Regions from separate parts of the Homo sapiens genome. Here region 1 is linked to region 2. The links are contacts of gene promoters, found by promoter capture Hi-C in human tissues and cell types (Jung and others, 2019). All regions are on one chromosome and are shown on one strand. Each heading gives the region's core, a stretch centred on a gene start or on the middle of the fragment in contact. The rest is flanking DNA. Distances are from core to core; before and after follow the strand shown.

Region 1 (4,859 bases), core at 1,241-3,740, 330 kb after region 2:
GTGATCCACTTGCCTTAGCCTCCCAAAGTGCTGGGATTATAGGCGTGAGCCACTGCACCCGGCCTCCACAGAAACATTTCTAAAGAGATATTAAGAGAACTTAATAGTGCACTGAGCACAGAGAGAGAGGAGTTGAGCATGAGACCCAGGTTTCTGGCTTGGGTTGCTGGGTGGAGACGGGTACCGCTCCCTAAGATAGAGAATGAAGGAGGAGAGGTAGGTTTTGGAAGAAGTGGAATGGAAGATAAGCTTTGGGTATTCTAAATTTGAGATGCCTGCAGGGCACCCAGGCAAAGATATCTGGTAGTCAGTTAGAAATATGCATCTAGAGATACAGACACGGGAGTAATTAGGCCCTCCGTGTGGCAGAGGCTATGAACAAGACCATTCAGGAAGACAGGAAGGGGACCAAAAAACAAAACACAACCCACAAGGACACTAATGTTTTGGAGATTTTGTTTGTTTGTGGGGAGAGTGGGACACTACAAGGGAATGGTAAGACAAGAAGGAGAAAATGCTGTAGAGAAAAATCACATGAAGGTAAGGAGAGAAAATGTTTCATGAAATAGTTTGATCACCTATGTCAGCTGTTGTAGAAAGATCAAGTAGTACAAAGTCTCACAATAGACTGTTGACTTCAGATAGAGCAATTTTGTTAGGGGGCATCAAAACAGGCTACGTAGGAGAGATTGTGATGTACTTTCCTGGACACCAACTCAAGGGACAAAGTGTGAAAGTTGTCAGAATCATAATGGAGTCACTTGTGTTAAAAACCCTTACAAGGCCGGGGATAGTGGTGCACATCTGTAATCCCAGCACTTTGGGAGGCCAAGGCTGGCATAACATTTGAGTCCAGGAGAGTCCAGGAGTTCAAGACCAGCCTAGGTAGCATGGTGAAACCCTATCTGTACAAAACATACAAAAATTAGCTGGCATGGTGGCCCATGCCTGTAGTCTCAGCTACTTGGGAGGCTGAGGAGGATGGTTTGAGCCTAGGAAGTGAAAGCTACAATGAGCTATGATCGTGCCACTGCACTTCAGCCTTGGGGACAAAGTAAGACTCTGTCTCAAAAAAAAAAAAAGCCAAACAACAAAACCCTGAAAAATAGAGCCTCAGAAAGCCATGAAGGGAGGATTCTCATGCCCAAAGTCTGATAACAAGAATTACGGTAAAAGACTGCAAAAATGACAGCCTTGCACAAAGGCCATAGCAATCTTGCAAAACTAAACAAAACAAAACATTTCTGTGAGGACACCTGCCCAGCAACTGCTTGTCCATACTCTGACTGGCTCCACCCTCGTTATTGATCCTTTTAGCCAGTGATCCTCCTCATTTTTCCTTTAAAAAACTTGTCTTCCTAGGCCGGGCACAGTGGCTTACACCTTAATCCCAGCACTTTGAGAGGCCGAGGCAGATGGATCACCTGAGGTCAGGAGTTCAAGACCAGCCTGGCCAACATGGTGAAACCCCCGTCTCTACTAAAAATACAAAAAATAGGTGGGTGTGGTGGTGGGCACCTGTAATCCCAGCTTCTCGGGAGGCTGAGACAGGAGATTTGCTTGAACCCCAGAGGTGAAGTTTGCAGTGAGCTGAGATCGTGCCATTGCACTCCAGCCTGGGCAACAGAGCAAGACTCCGTGTCAAATAATAATAATAATAAAATAAAAAGCTTGTCTTCTTTTACTTCCTTGAAATACACATTCTTTCTCAATCATAGTTGTATCCAATAACATCCTAAATTACTTACTTTTTTTTCTTTTCCATTCAAGGTGACAGAAGTGGAACTAAATTACTTATTAATCTTATAATTTATCTCCTTTTGTAGTTGGAATAAAGTTAGATACCTAATAGTAGAAATTTACCTTCTGTGGTGTCCACGTATTGAGGCTTACGCTTTGGGGAAAACATATATGGTTCAAAGCAGTATTCTTTTTTTTTTTTTTTTTTTTTTAGTAGAGGCGGGGTTTCACCATGTTGGCCAGGCTTGTCTCAAACTCCTGACCTCAGGTGATCCACCCACCTTGGCCTCCCAAAGTGCTGGAATTACAGGCGTGAGTCACCGCGCCCAGCCCAAAGCAATATTCTTATGCCCAAGATGTCAGGAGTATCGTTACCCACATGAAAGTTTTCTTTTTTTTCTTTTTCTTTTTTTTTTTTTCTGAGACAAGCTCTTGCTCTGTTACCCAGGCTGAAGTGCAGTGGCACGATCTTGGCTCACTGCAGCCTCCACCTCTAGGTTTAAAGTGATCCCATGCCTCAGCCTCCCAAGTAGCTAGTAGCACAGGCATGTGCCACCACACCCAGTTAATTTTAGTATTTTTAGTAGAGACAGGGTTTCACCATGTTAGCCAGGCTAGTCTCTAACTGCTGACTTCAAGTGATCCTCCAGCCTCTGCCTCACAAGTTGCTGGGATTACAGGCATGAGCCACCACACCCAGCCCTCATGCAAATTTTCAAGTGCTTATTGGCCAGGGCTGTGTAGGATTTAATATCAAGTGTTCATGAAAGAAAGCTTAGAGCTAGATGAAATACTTTGCCTAGACTCATGGAGTCTTTCCCCGAGCAGATTTCTGGAGTTCCTTCTCTCTATTTTTTTTTTTTTTTTTTTTTTGAGACAGAATCTCACTCTATCACTCACTCTGTCACTGTAGTGCAGTGGCACAATCTTGACTCACTGCAGCCTCAGCCTCCTGGGCTCAAGCAATCTTCCCACCTCAGCCTCCTGAGTAGCTGGGATTACAGGCGCATGCCACTGCAATCGGCTACTTTTTTTTTTTTTTTTTTTGAGACGGAGTCTCACTCTGTCACCCAGGCTGGAGTACAGTGGTGTGATCTCAGCTCACTGCAACCTCCACCTCCCAGGTTCAAGCAATTCTCCGCCTTAGCCTCCTGAGTAGCTGGGATTACAGGTGCATGCTACCACACCTGGCTTATTTTCCTATTTTTAGTAGAGATGGGATTTCACTATGTTGGTCAGGTTGGTCTTGAACTCCTGACCTCAAGCAATGTGCCTACCTTGACCTGCCAAAGTTCTGGGATTACAGGTGTGAGCCACTTCACCTGGCCTGGAGTTTCTTTTCTGTGCAGCTTCTTTCTCTCTGATATGTCTCCTCAGCTCAGAGATACCACCACACAAGACAGTGTTTCCACACAAAGAGCCAGGGTGATTGTGAATCTTGCATCATTTCCCTGTCATCTGGTATCACAGTTCTGTGTTTCCTATTGGTGGATGTCTAAAAGGACTTATTTCTTTTTCCAACTTTGACAGCTGCGTATAATGGGAAGTCTTGTCCAGTATCAGTCCTTTTCCTACATCAAGGCTGAAAGTGGAAGCACTTCCACATTGCAGGCTTTCTGTCAACATCTGGTGGGCTTTGCTTGCCAGTTTTTATTTATATTTATTTATTTATTTATTTAGTGAGATGAAGCCTCACTCTGTCACCCAGGCTGCAGTGCAGTGGCACGATCTCAGCTCACTTCAACCTCTGCCTCCCGGGTTCAAGTGTTTCTCCCACCTCAGCCTCCCGAGTAGCTGGGACTACAGGTGCCCACCACCATTCCTGGCTAATTTTTCTATGTTTAGTAAAGACGGGGTTTCATCATCTTGGCCAGGCTGGTCTCAAACTCCTGACCTCAAGTGATCCACCCCTGCTTCAGCCTCCCAAAGTGCTGGGATTACAAGCATGAGTCACTACACCCAGCCCAGTTTTTTGTTTTTAAATGATGCAGTAGAAAAACTGACTGGGAACTCAGTATTTTTAGGTAGAGCTTTGTCAATTAGGAGGTTTGCTTTAGTGTGAATGGATGAAAAGCAGACCATGTACTTTGGAAAACAGACATTGTTGGATGCTTACCCAGAATTCATTTTTAGTTTTTCCCTTGCTAACATAATCCTTCTTTGGGTTCAGGTGTCCACGCTTTTCTGCCTAGCTAGGTGAACCTGTCCTTAACTCAAGGGTAAATCCTGATTTGGCTAAACTAATACATGAGAATTCCAATTCCTCTTGCCAGTGGTTTGTTTAGGCATCGGCTTGTGTTGCAATTTTGGTCAATGAAACATGGAGGGCCAGGCATGGTGGCTCACACCTGTAAACCCAGTGCTTTGGGAGGCTGAGGTGGGAGGATCTCTTGAGCTCAGGCATTCAAGACCAGCCTGGGCAATATAGCGAGACCCAGGCTCTGCAAAAAATACTTTAAAAATTAGCTGGGTAGTGGCACAAACCTGTAATCCCAGCTACTCAGGAGGCTGAGATGGGATGATCACTTGCACTCAGGAGGTAGAGGTTACAGTGAGCCAAGATTGCACCACTGCACTCCAGCCTGGGTGACAAAGCGAGACACCCTGTCTCAAAAAACAAAAACAAAAACAAAAACATGGAGGTAAAACCGTTGGGAACTTCTGGAAAAAGTGCTTCAAATTAAAAAAAGAGACCAAAATATCGTTTCTTTTCTTCTTTAGATGTTTTCAAGTCTATGAATAATCCCTGGGGATATGAAGAGCACAGGACAGAGAGGTGGAATGATGCTGGGCCCTTGATGGTGTCATTCAGCCATTGAATTGGGAAATCCTAGTCACTCTACATTCAAACATGTAAGATATCACATCTCCACATTTTTAGAATTAGAGATTTCTGATACCTATAAATAAAGTCATCCTAAGTGATGCAAACTCCAGAATACACAGGACTTGGTGCTTAAATGTGAACTTCCTTTCTAATTTCCATAATGCTTCCAGATTATTTGTTAAATTTCTTAGAAGAGAACACTCTATTTTTTTTAGCTTTGTTGCTGTTGTTGTATTTTTTCCTAGAAGATGGAGAAACACCTAAACTGCAGACATTATGCTTGTAAGAGTAG
Region 2 (5,075 bases), core at 1,715-4,214:
ATCCTTCTCATTACTGGATTGCCTCAGTTTATCCCCTGTCTTTAATAACATCCTGCTCCATTCTAATCTGTTACTTCTAATAGGCTGTGATCTAGAAAGATGTCATAACCAAACTTAATAAAAATACATGAATGATTTAAGTGAGGTCCTGAAGGGCTCTCCTGTGAGTAAAGTCTTTGGTGCAAAGAGTTTTGCCATTTATTTTATTTTATTTATTTTGAGACAAGGTCTCACTCTGTTGCCCAGGCTGGAGTACAGTGGTGCCAACACAGCTCACTGCAGCCTCGACCTCCCAGGCTCAAGCTATCCTCCCACCTCAGCCTCCCAAGTAGCTGGGACCAGAGGCATATGCCACCACGCCTGGCTATGCCATTTATTTTACTTTTTAAAGACCCTTTTAACTTCCTTTCAAGTTCTCAGGAATATTCTAGATTTAACTTATCAATTTTGTGGTTTCTGGGAATTGTTATTGAAATTCTGTAAGTTTGCTAAGCTTCCTACTAATTCATAAAATTACAAAATATTCTGAATCCATGACTGATGTTTTCAAAAACAAAATCATAGGCAATAATATACTTATCCAAGATTTTTCTTATGTAGGTAACCTTTTCTTGGATAGCTTCTTCAAAATGAAAATATCCTTTGTAACTAAACTGGACTATATAAGCAAATGATGTTTATTAGAATGCTGACTATTTTTCTCTCCTGAGCTTTTCATATAGATAGTATTGGTGTCGAATGTGCAGATTCCTTTTGAATATGGGAAATCATTGTGATATAACTGGTTTTCTCCTTAGTCCTTAGTCTCCTTAGCCCCTTAGTATATAACAATAGTTTTAACACAACTCAGTCAAAAACATGTAATGAACACTTATTGTAGGTGTTCTTGGCTAAGAATAAGGAAAAATATCAGAAAAACATAGTAATGTTTTGTATAAACTGAATATTAAAGACTGTTCTACCATTAGAGAGCTTTCTGTCTTGTTAAAGGAAATAAGAGCCAGTTATTCAGCAAAGAAATATATTATCAATGCAGGATTCGTGCAGACAGTAAATGGCTTTGAAATTTGTAATGAGATATGGAGTAGTTCTGTGATTGCTTTGGCAGCACATATGCTAAAATTGGAACAATACAGAGAAGATTAGCATGGCCTCTGCATGAGAATGGCATACAAATTTGTGAAGCATTCTATATTTTTAGCAATATATTGTACTCTTGAAAAATGCTAAGACAGTGAGTGTATTCTTAAATGCATGTTAATATGCAAAAATGCATATGTTCATTGGCTAGATTTAGTCATTCCACGCTGTATACATATTTCAAAACATCATGTTGTACATGATAAATACATACAAGTTTATTTGTTAATTAAAAAACAGAAATGGATTAGTTCTGCCTAAATATACTAGACTCAGAAGTTAATAATAAATGTGCATCCACCCCTTTGTTTAATTTGCCTTGGCTATTAAGTTAACATTTATGCTAAGAACCTTTGGCTGTTATAGTTTCCTATCATTTATTTGGTAAAAAGATTAATTGGAGAGGTGTTTCAATGGCTCCATTAGGAGATATGAAGAAAGCCCCACCATTGCCAGTATTTGGGAACTCAAAGCGTTTATTTTCTAAAGCAGGTGATGCTACATGAATTGCTGTCCACACCTTCTGCTACTTTCCTCTGTTGGCCAGAAGAATAATTTTAATGTCGCCCAAATGGATTATGCTGACCTCAACCCAGATCCCCCTGGGAGATATAAACTTCTTATATGTTCCTGGCTGGGTCATTGTAAATAATATCTACATGTATCCCAAAGCTCTGAATTATCCTCATCTGTAACAGACACAACGACTAAATGGTATCTGGAACGTAGTTAATTTTCTGGAAAATATTCAAAGGAACAAAATGAGCACTGCAATACAAAATTGCTGTCGACTTAACTTTTGCCAGTTTCCCTGGATGTGTAAGTAGAATTATATTTTCACAGAACTTGCAAAAATCTCAGACTCGGCTGCTATTTAATCTCTTTCCAGAAGCACCAGCCCTGAGCAATCCTATCTGCAATTAGCTGCGTGTGGTTGCTACTAAATTGCTCCCCATAAGTTAGTTCCTAACACTGTTTCACAGCACGGCATACTCTATAAAGGGAGAACGCTTGGAAGGACCGAAGAGTTCCCTTTGTCGTGCCCTTGCCCTGCCTCTGGACAACGATGTTCTTACACTGCCGACTAGCTAATCCTGTGACCCTTTTCTTTCAGCACCTTGAGTTTGAGTTAGGCAATACCTCTTACACCAAAGTGGGCACACCTTCGGATCATGTAGGCAGCGATTGTTTAGCCGAGACATCCCCCTACCCCCGCAAAAGGCAGCAGAGAAGCGGCGAACGCCGCTTAGCAGTTGGCGCGCTCTCAGTGCGGGTGACGCGGGGCTGGGTTGGGGTGTTCCGTCCCCGGGTCGTGGGACTCCCCGAGAGGGGGTGGCTGGAGGAGGAGGGAGGGCTTGTTTCGCTGGGGGATGTGGGAAGTAGGCGCTAGCCTGTTTCGCGGTTTTTTAAGCCCCTTGGCATGCCCTGACCTGATCTAGAGGGAGTCTACTGCTCTTAGGAATGTTCCGGGAGAAGGTGGGAGATTGCTTCCCAGGGGAGGCCTGTGGGTGCTGCAGGGCACCAGGGGGGTCACTAGGGAGATGCAGGGCGCGGGCCAGGAGGGGCGCCAGGGCAGCCGGGGGCCAGGCTGAGGCGACCGGGACCAGCGGGCAGCCGGGCGTCGGGGGCGTCGGTCGGGGCGCGGGGGACCCCCCCCCCGGGCGGCAGCGGCAGCGGCGATCCGATCCCGCGGGCTGCGCCGCCCGGGCTGTCAAGCGCGGGGGGCGGGCGGGAGGAAGGGGTGGAGGTGCGAGGGGAGGAGGGCTGGCACCGGAGCGCCGCGGCGTCGGTGCAATAAAAATGCATCGCATGGAACTGCCCGTGGAGAAGGACGGGACGGAGCCGGGGCAGCCAGAAGAGGTGGGAAAAGCGGAGGAGGACGCCCAGGAGGAGGCGGCGGCGGCGGCCGGGAAGTGAAAGGTCTCGCAAAGTTCAGCGGCGGCTGCGGGCGCCGAGCCCCGGGCTAGCGGCAGACGAGCCCGCAGGGCCGCTCCGCGGGGCAGCGCAGCCAGGCCGGCTATGGTCCCGGGGCTCCCGCCGCCCCCCAGGTGCCCGGGACCCGCCAGGCCGGTGCGCGAGGGTCACCCCACCTCCCCGCGCGGTCCCGGCCCCTGGCTCCCAGCTGCCGGCGACCGCTGACCGAGCCCGGCGCCCCAGGAGGAGGAAGAAACCAGGGCCCCGTTCCCTCCCGAGGACGGCGGCGCTTCATCCCGCAGCCCAGAGGTCTCGGCTCCCTCCGGCACCCGCCCGGCCCGGCTGCTCCCGGCTCCTCCCGGCCATGGGGAGCTGCGCGCGGCTGCTGCTGCTCTGGGGCTGCACGGTGGTGGCCGCAGGTGGGTGGTGACGCGGCGGGGCCCCCACCCCTTCCCTCGCTGCTTCTCTAACCCATCTCGGGACTCGGGGGTGCAGGGGAGCCAGGGCTGCGAGCGCAGAGCGCTGCTCCCGAGGGTGAAATGAGTGGCCATGTTCCGCCTCCTTTCCCCGGGGCTCCGCAGTTTCAAATACTATTGATTTATTTTTACAACTGGGATACACATGCGCTTGGATAACCAGCTATCCTGGGTGCGCCCTGCCGGGGATACTGCGACCGGGGTTTCTTTCTTGGTTTGGCTTGTTAAAAAACTGCTTTTCCACTTGGTGAGGGAACAAAGGACCCAGCTCGCCATCCCCCGGCACTTCATGGCCTAAGGAATGATGAGGAGGGGTGGCCCAGCGACCCTGGGCGCGCGTGGGCTGGGGCCGGTCTCTGGTAGAAGCCCATCGCTGGTGTCCCTGACCTGGTGCTGGGTACTAGAGAACCAGGTAAGGACACCTGGGGCAGGGCTGAGCGCCCTCTCCCCGGAGCAGTGACTGGAACGCAGTGGGACTCCTGGCTTGGACGATAGGTGGTGATCACCCCGGGCTTGCATTGAGCTGGCTGGCCGCCCCTGGGGAATTGGTACCCTGGCAGAGACTCTGCGGGAGGTCGGAGGCGGGTCTGCTCCCTGGCTCGGTAACTGGACAACCGGCGTCGGCGTCGGCAGATGCCCTCTCCCTCCCACTCCCATCCTGGCTTTCTTGGGCTGCCCTAGGCCACCGGCTCCTGGCTCGTGGTTTCTGTATTCGGGAGCCCCTTCTGCTCCTCTCCCTCCCTCTTGCGGGTCACCTGGTTTCCAGTTAGGCGTAAGCGCAGCCCTGTAGGTGAGGGGGAGAGATGTGAGGGAGTCTGCAGACATCCAGTCTCTCGTGCGGATCTTGACTGCTTCAGAAAGGGGCGCCTGGGCTAGAGGGATGCGCTGGTGGCTACAGAACATTGTAGCACGCATCTCCTCCCTTGGGCTTCCACTCTTCCCTGAGGGCCGCTGGCACCCAGCAAAATCCAGGCTTTCCAGTCTGCATCCCAAACCAGTCCAAGTCACAGGAGCATCCTTAGTATCATTGAATAGTCCCTTGAGTGACTCCAAGTATTTTGCCCCATGGATTCTTTATCTGGCTCAAATCTTTTCTGGACTTAGGAGTTTAGGGGCATTTAAAATTATTGGATATTTTTCCCAGGGACCTATTAAAGGCCTAAGATTTTACTTTAATTCTTGCACTCTTAAAATATGAGCTTTAAAAAAAACCTTTTCCTTCTCAAACCATATTATGGCAAAAACATGCAAGCCATTGAAAGGTTGTAAATAAACATCACAAGGCAAGTGTTTCAAGTCAAAAATACTTGTACAGGCAGTATATGATTTTCCTTGAAATTTTTTACAGGTGAGTCATAGCACATTGTGTGTTTGTGTGCTTCTGGCCACAAGCAACTGTTGCCCCAGCTAATGAGAAAAGTGGCAAACAGAACCCAGGCATAATGCACACTTTAATTTGACATTTAAAAAATAATGCCTAAGGAAGCCCTTTAGTTGCAAGGCTTCGTGGGGTTGGCCATTGTCAGTGTGTGAAATGTCTCTGTT

The links. Contacts are between HindIII fragments. The study calls those that stand out against the background at their distance.
Region 1: a fragment that was not itself captured here is called in contact with the fragment with the promoter of NTN4 in region 2 in 1 of the 25 tissues and cell types used here (hippocampus).

Annotation. Positions count from the first base shown.
Region 1 is chr12:95,458,652-95,463,510 of GRCh38, reverse strand. No RefSeq gene overlaps it. Among named protein-coding and RNA genes, the nearest start is that of METAP2, 13 kb to the left of the region's middle. The HindIII fragment of the contact is 3,060 bases long and covers 961-4,020 here.
Region 2 is chr12:95,788,653-95,793,727 of GRCh38, reverse strand. NTN4 (netrin 4) reads left to right here and starts at 2,964. Exons shown (of 10, transcript NM_021229.4): 1 at 2,964-3,473. The coding sequence starts at 3,419. It also overlaps the pseudogene RNU6-247P. The HindIII fragment of the contact is 9,266 bases long and covers 1-5,075 here.